Regions from separate parts of the Homo sapiens genome. Here region 1 is linked to region 2. The links are contacts of gene promoters, found by promoter capture Hi-C in blood cells and fetal thymus (Javierre and others, 2016). All regions are on one chromosome and are shown on one strand. Each heading gives the region's core, a stretch centred on a gene start or on the middle of the fragment in contact. The rest is flanking DNA. Distances are from core to core; before and after follow the strand shown.

Evidence for each region. The method cuts DNA at HindIII sites, captures the fragments that hold promoters and counts their contacts. A CHiCAGO score of 5 or more calls a contact.
Region 1: a contact is called between the fragment with the promoter of FARSA here and the fragment with the promoter of KLF1 in region 2, in 3 of 17 cell types (erythroblasts, megakaryocytes and M1 macrophages). The highest score is 8.0, in erythroblasts.

The regions. Positions count from the first base shown.
Region 1 is chr19:12,931,046-12,935,219 of GRCh38, forward strand. FARSA (phenylalanyl-tRNA synthetase subunit alpha) reads right to left here and starts at 2,666. Exons shown (of 13, transcript NM_004461.3): 1 at 2,505-2,666. The coding sequence starts at 2,651. FARSA-AS1 (FARSA antisense RNA 1) reads left to right here. Exons shown (of 3, transcript NR_149078.1): 2 at 1,925-1,992; 3 at 2,104-2,251. RefSeq lists enhancers at 2,269-2,338, 2,349-2,848, 2,570-2,864 and a silencer at 3,901-4,006. The HindIII fragment of the contact is 14,863 bases long and covers 1,819-4,174 here.
Region 2 is chr19:12,884,968-12,888,625 of GRCh38, forward strand. KLF1 (KLF transcription factor 1) reads right to left here and starts at 2,234. Exons shown (of 3, transcript NM_006563.5): 1 at 2,087-2,234; 2 at 350-1,175; 3 at 1-93. The coding sequence starts at 2,173. RefSeq lists enhancers at 1-519, 417-506, 1,264-1,525, 2,089-2,429, 2,538-2,876, cis regulatory regions at 44-544, 1,124-2,964, a silencer at 657-916 and a promoter at 2,168-3,186. The HindIII fragment of the contact is 12,769 bases long and covers 1-3,658 here.

The DNA of each region.
Region 1 (4,174 bases), core at 1,416-3,915, 47 kb after region 2:
CAGATTTTAATGTGAAAAATTAGGTGAACTGATATGTCTCCACATTTTTTTGTTTGTTTTTGTTTTCTTTGAAAGGGGGTCTCACCCTGTCACTAGGCTGGGTGCAGTGGTGTGATCATAGCTCACTGCAGCCTAGACCTCCTGGGCTCAAGCGATCCTTCCGCCAGTCCCGAGTAGCTGGGACTACAGGCATGTGCCGCCACACCTGGTTAATTTTTAAATTACTTTTTTTTTTTGAGACGGAGTCTTGCACTGTCGCTCAGGCTAGAGTGCAATGGTGCGATCTCGGTTCACTGCAACCTCTGCCTCCCGGGTTCAAATGATTCTCCTGCCTCAGCCTCCCGAGTAGCTCGGATTACAGGTGCCCACCACCACCCCCAGCTAATTTTTGTATTTTTAGTAGAGATGGGGTTTCACCATGTTGGCCAGGCTGGTCTCAAACTCCTGACCTCGTAATCGGCCGACTCCGCCTCCCAAAGTGCTAGGATTACAGGCGTGAGCCGCCGTGCCCGGCCCTTTAAATTACTTTTTAAAGACAGGGTGTTGTTATGTTGTCCAGGCTGGTCTCAAACTCCTGGCCTCAAGTGATTCTCCTTCCTCAGCCTCCCAAAGTGCTGGCATAATGGGCATGAGCCACCATACCCAGCCTGTCTCCATGTTTAAATGTTCACATGTCAGTGCCCAGAATGTCAGAGACGGGCCCTGGAGGTCCACATTACAAACAAAAACTGAGGTTCCAGGTCCAGAGTCATGAAGACAAGGACAACAAGGGTAAGTAGAGTGCACAGGGCCTGGCTCCCACTTCATTCTAATCCCAACTCTGCCCTTCACTTACTGTGTGACCTCAGGAAAGTTGCTTAACCTCTCAGTGACTCTTCTCATCCATAAGAGAAAGGTGTGATGGGTTCTACCTCAGATGATTTTAAGGAGTAGCTAAATTAATACTCAGAAAGAATATATAGTGCCTACCACGTGACAAACACTGCATAAATTTTTTTTTTTTTTTTTTTTGAGACGGAGTCTCGCTCTGTCGCCCAGGCTGGAGTGCGATCTCGGCTCACTGCAACCTCCACCTCCCGATTCAAACAATTCTCTGCCTCAGCCTCCCAAGTAGCTGGGATTACGGGTGCCCACCAACACGCCTGGCTAATTTTTTTTTGTATTTTTAGTAGAGACAGGGTTTCATCATCTTGGCCAGGCTGGTCTTGAACTCCTGACCTCGTGATCCACCCGCCTTGGTCTCCCAAAGTGCTGGGATTACAGGTGTGACCACTGCACCCGGCATAAATTCTAATTACTATAATTATTTTTATGGCTATTACTGTCATTAGATTGAACCTCACCTCCTTATATTATTTAACCCTCTGTGACGTATACAAATGTCAGATCATATTGGTCAAGGCACTGTCACCCCACACAACACAGCTGCCATCTCTCCTCTGCATTGAGGACTATGGGCTCTGCAGCCTGAGTGCCTAATTTCAAATCTGGGCTCATCGGCCTCTTCTATTCACACTGATTATGTTACTGACCATCAGTTGTCACATCTGCAAAATGGGAATAACATGGCCATCAGCCAGGATTATGGAATGGATTGGACAAACAAGCTGAGACCAAAGTGGGGCACAGAACATGAGCTCTACGGATAAACAGCCCAGATCCTGGCCCCATGGATCTAGCCTTCTGGGTGGCCCACGGGCCCCTCAGCATCCTACGCCTGTGACTCTGTCACTGTCCACTTGCCCAAGTCAGAAGGCTGGACTTCATCTGTGCGCCCCCTGCCTTGTCCTGAATCCCACGCCTTCCCCACCTCCCCCAAGCTTCCTTCCCATAGCCAGACATCATGCCCTCCAGCTTGGGGAAGTGCCAGCTTCTTCTTTCATCCCTTCACCTCCAGTCCTGTCCATGCCAATTCTTCCCAAAGGTGATGTGGATAGCACACTCATCTGACCGGCTCTAGCTCCTGCTATCGCTTCCCAGTTCCCTCATGAGGTAAAGACCTAAGAGGCTTTGCAATTACAGCTATGCTGGTCTCCCTTGCCGCCTGCCATCCCCCAAGATCCCGGCCACTGATCTCTAAAGTGCTATCACTTTCCTCAACAGAGAACAGACTCAGCCGTCACCTGCACCAGGCCGCTCTCCCTGACCCCCAAGGCTGGGTCAGCTGTCACAGCTGGGTCCCCTGTTTTCCCCCATCACTCTGGTTCTTGAAGCACCTTCCTATTACGTCGCAACCTGCGTGAGGGCAGCAACCGCGACTTCCTCGTCCATCATCGTACCCTCTACCCACGCTGACCGTGCCTCAATAAACGTTTATTGCATGAGGAACATCCGTGCGTCTGGGCCCTCACTCGTCCCACTTCCCGCCCGCACATCCCGGAGTGGACACATATACAGCTACCCCAAACTAGGCCTGAGGGAATTTGGCTTGGACGTAGAGCGCCCGTGGCAAGGGGACTGTAGGTGCAAGGGCAAGGCGGTCCGGCATCACGGGCCCGGCTCACCTCGCCCAGCGCCTGAAGGCTCTTCACGGCGCCCACCACCGCCTGGTGCTCCATGCCCAGCTCAGCCGCCAACTCGGCGCTGTCCAGGCCGCCATCAGACGCCTCCAGCCGCCGGAGCAGCAGTTCCGCCACCTGACCATCCGCCATGACTCCTTCCAGTGTGCTCAGCGTGTCCGGGCCCGGGTGGGCGGGGGGAGCTGAGCCACCGGAACCGGAACCGGAGTGTGTACCGCCATCTTGAATGTGTCTAACTGTAGAACAGGGCTCAATGTGTCGTCATCTTGAGTGTGGCGACGGAGCCGCAAAAGGTGCATGGGACTCAGTTCCCACCTCCACCCTGGCTCCATCAATGGCGTCTGGTTGACCAGAGGGGTAAAATTGATTATCTCAAGGTCAGAAGCACCGCCCTGTTTTGAGTTTTATCTAGCCTCACTTCGAGCGGGCTGTGTGACCTTGGACTTCCCCGTCTCTGGGTTACAGAACCCTCTGCCCTTCTGGTATTCTCTCTTGCCCTAGGAGAGGCGGTGGGTGGTGGGCTCCAGAGATGGTCATTTTGGCGATGTCAGCTACTTTTAAAATTTCAAAGGAAGGCTGGGTAGGTACCGTCCCTTTTTATAGAGGGAAAAGGAATTCACCTAGTAAGTCAAGGTGGCACCTAACCTGTGTGGACTACCTCGTATGTGGTAGTACTTAGCCCAGAACTGAGTACTTCACGTGTAGTATTTCATTTATCCCCAAAACTTTATGATGTAGATACTGATATAACCGCATTACACATGTGAGAAAACTGAGGCTCAGAGGGTGGTATGACTTGCCCAAGGTTCTACAGAGAGTTGGTGGAAATGAAGTCATAAATTATAAACCTTCCAGATCCTCCCACCCCTGTGCGCTGAGAGTAACGTCAGTGCAAATACTGCATGGCCTAGATTAGCACTGTCCTATAGAAACACAGTGCAAAACATCTTTCTTTTTTGAGACAGGGTCTTGCTCTGTCACCCATGCTGGAGTGCAGTGGTGCAATTATGGCTTACTGCAGCCTTGACTTCCCAGGCTCTAAGGATCCTCCAACCTTAGGCTCCTGAGTAGCTGGAACTGCAGGTGCGCGCCACCACACCCAGCTTTTTTTTTTTTTTTAAGTATGGGTTTTGGCCATGTTGCCCAGGCTGGTCTCAAACTCCTAGGCTCAGGTTATCCTCCTGCATCGGTCTCCCAAAATGCTGGCATTAGAGGCATGACCCACCTCGCCCAGCCAGCCAGACCCTGACTCTTACAAAAAAAAAGATGACTAATAAAATATTTTGCACTCGGCCGGGCACAGTGGCTCACCTCTGTAATCCCAGCACTTTGGGAGGCCGAGGCGGGTGGATCACCTGAGGTCGGGAGTTTGAGACCAGCCTGACCAACATGGAGAAACCCCGTCTCTACTAAAAATACAAAATTAGCAGGGCGTGGTGGCGCATGCCTGTAATCTCAGCTACTTGGGAGGCTGAGGCAGGAGAGTCGCTTGAACCTGGGAGGCAGAGGTTGTGGTGAGCCGAGATCGTGTCATTGCACTCCAGCCTGGGTGACAAGGCGAAACTCCGTCTCAAAAAAAAAAAAATTGCACTTTTTTTCATACTAAATCTTCAAAATCTGATGCGTATTTTACACTTACAACACATCTCAGTTCG
Region 2 (3,658 bases), core at 984-3,483:
GCCCCGTGTGTTTCCGGTAGTGGCGGGTCAGCTCGTCCGAGCGCGCGAATCTCCAGCCGCAGCCTTCCCACGTGCAGGCGTATGGCTTCTCCCCTAGGGGACAAGGAAGCCATAAGCGCCACTGTCTGCCCAGTCATGTCCCCGGGTCCCCTGCATCTGGCCACACCCCTTTACTCAGCCTGGGCTGGGACTAGGATGAACAAAGTGAGGCCCCTAGGGCACAAAATTTAAGGAGGCACTCACTCTCAGAGGCCAGCCAAGTCCAAGTCCCGCCCTCTGCAACCCTTCTTCCCCTGTAACTACAGCGGGCGCCGCGCCCTTTCTCATGTCCGGGGCCCCGCCCCCTCACCTGTGTGCGTGCGCAGATGCGCCTTCAGGTGGGAGCTCTTGGTGTAGCTCTTGCCGCAACCCGGGTGCGCGCACGTGTGCGCTGCCTGCCTCTTGCGCGCCCACGAACGTCGGCCTCGCTTGGATGGCGCGGTCTCGGCTATCACACCTGGATCCTCTGCAGTCCCCCCGAGTCCAGTGCCCACCGTCCCGGGTCCCAAACAACTCAGGAAGGAGGGGGACGTGGCGGGACCGGGCGCGGGTCCCTGGAGCCCGCGGAAGAGCTGGAAGTGCCCTTGGTACTGAGGCGCCGGGTACATCGCGGGGTACCCGGACAGTAGCCCGTAGGGGGCGCCCGACGCCGCAGGCACTGAAAGCCCGGTCCGCGGGAAGTAGCCACCCGAGGAGCCGGCGCCGGGCCCCGGGTACACCGGTTGCAGCGCCAGCGCCTTGGGCTCGGGGGCCGGGGCTGGAGCCAGGGCTGGGCCCACGAAGGCGTCGGGAGCCCGGGCTCGCAGGGCAGGGCGCACCCAACCCGAGTGATCCTCCGAACCCAAAAGCCCAGCCACCAGCCCCGGGCCGCCAGCATATGCGCCCAGAGTCTCGGGCGGCGGCGGATATTGCGCCCCGGAGGCCTCGCTGGGCGCCAGAGCGCAGGTCTGGGGCGCGCCACCGGGCTCCGGGCCCGAGAAGTTGGTGAGGAGGAGATCCAGGTCCCAGGTGGCGTCCGCGCCCCTCTCATCGTCCTCTTCCTCCCCGGGCTGGTCCTCAGACTTCACGTGGAGGGGCGGCTCCGTGGGGTCAGGAGGACCCGGGCCCATGTCCTGCGCCTCTTCGGAGCGCCACCACTGCGGGAGGGAGCAGGCAGCTCGAGGTTCGGTGGACACTGGGGTGCCCTGCCCAGGGACATCGCGGGCTGGACACTCTGACGCAGAGGCTTTGGAAAGGGGTCTTGTTTGCCTGTCTGTCTGTCCCACTTCCCCAACACTGCCCCTCTAACCGCCCCTCTCCCCGCTCCCCCCCCAGCTCCAGGGACAGAAACCGATCAGGTCTGGCTGGAGACAGGAGATAAGACTTCCACTATCTGGAACCACACTCGGGGATGGGGGAAGGGGTAGCAGAGCTGCTGGAGATGGAAAACTGGCAGGGGACGGGGGAGAGGATGCCAGCCTTGACTTAGTTTTCCCCCAGAACATCCCTCTCCTTCCCTGTCTCCCAAAACAAGATTAATTCCGAAATTTTGGATGTCCCCCAGACACACTCATCATTTCCCGCTGATATCTGGAAGATTGTCTGTGAGCCTAGATCTCGTTCCTTTTTTTTTTTTTTTTTCTTGAGATAGGGTCTTACTCTTTTGCCCAGGCTGGAGTGCAGTGGTGCAGCTCACTGTATCCTTAATCTCCTGGGCTCTAATGATCCTCCTGCATCAGCCTACGGAGTACCTGGGACTACAGGCACACGCCCCCATGCCTGGCCTAATGTTTTTGGTATTTTTTGTAGAGATAGGGTTTCACCATGTTGCCCAGGCTACCTTCGTTTTCTATTACCGAAATAGATCACACTTAGAACCTCAAACCCCTAGACCACCCTCCTCACCCCCTGCCAGACTAAGCTGAGATCTCCTCTCCTGGACTGAGCGTACCTCAGTCCTGGTTAAGTCTCTTGATTTCAGGTCAAGATGCAGGTCTGGACCCCAAGATCTGTGACTGTGGCCCTGGATTCCAGCCAGCCCACCTAGACCCCACCTTCTAGGCCCCACCTTGAGGAAGTCATCCTGTGTGTCCGGGAAGGGGCCCAGGGCGGTCAGTGTGCTGATGGAGGGCAAGGCGGTCTCGGCTGTGGCCATGGCTGGCTGGTGCCCACCCTGGGCCTCAAGCCTCCTCTTCCTCGGCTGCCTCGTGAACTCTGAGGCTGTGATAGCCCCTTCGAGGGCTCCTCTCTGTCCTTAGCTGATTGGCTGCAGCCTCTGATAAGGCAAAGCAAGGCAAGGCGGCGGGGGGGCACTGTTTCTGGGGCACAAACTTCACGTTGGCCTGTCTGGGGCTGGGGTTAAAGACTAACCCTGTGTCCAAAGCCAAGTCAAATATCAAGGGTTGGGGGGTTCAGGGTTTGAGGGTCCAGGTGCTGGGTAAAAACAGACATTGGGTCTCCAAAGAAGGAGAGACTTGGGGGTCTTCCCTCAGTTAACTTTCCTGGAAAAGGCAGAAAGGGTATTCTGGGAAGAAGCTGTGGGACCCCCTGTCCCCCTGATTGAGGCTCCACAGCCCTCCCCCTCCCCAGTAAACAGCAACAACCGTGCTGATGGCGGGACTTGGCACGAGCTCCCCGCCAAGCATTATCAGACACCCCAGACGTTGGAGGCTGCTATCAGGTGGGGGCCCAGGCCAGCTAGAGCTCTGTCCTCCGGTGAAGGGGAGGGCTGGGAGTTGGGTCTTCAAATTAGCCTGGCGTTCAATTTGCCTGGGTTGGGACCTCCCAGGGTCTCAGCCCTGCAGCAGGAGGAAGCCCCTGACAACTGGCCCACCATTGTCTACTGGGGACCCTTGGGTGGCACTGCATGGGACTGCATGGAGGCTGGTTCAGTGCCAGCTGCTTTAGTGCGATGGGGGCAGCCAAGGGAAAAGTGACCCTCTCTCCTCCTGGGTGGGATAGGACCGTTGGATCAAGCCACAGGCAGTACCTGACCTGCAGGAGACCAGTGCCCTGGCTCTGGGCCTGGCTGCTCCTTGATTCTGCCCAACATGAGGAGAGGATCTGAGTTTCTACAACAGGAACCTCCACTCTGGTGCCCTGGGAGCCTGGGAAGGGGACATGGATACGTATTACAGACACATAACTCATAGTCACTCATTGGAAGACTGAGGCAGGAGGATCACTTGACACCAGGATTTCAAGACCAGCCTGGGCAACATAAAACCTATCTCTCCAACAAAAAGCTGTGAGTGGTGGTGCATGCCCATAGTCCCAGCTACTCAGGAGGCTGAGGTGGGAGGATTGCCTGAGCCCAGGAGGTCGGGACTGCACTGAACTATAATCACACCACTGCAGTCCAGCCTGGGGCACAGAAAGCAAGACTCTGTCGCTGGAAAAAAAAAAAAGTTGGGTGGCCATCTTTATTCCTGGCAGATCAACCTGGGTGACACAAACAAAAACAAGGCCAGGTGCGGTGGTTCACACCTGTAACCCCAGCACTTTGGGAAGCCAAGGTGGGGAGATCACTTGAGGTCAGGAGTTCGAGACCAGACTGGCCAACAGGATGAAGCCCTCTCTCTGCTAAAAATACAAAAATTAGCTGGGCATTGTGGCACATGCTTGTAATCCCAGCTATTTG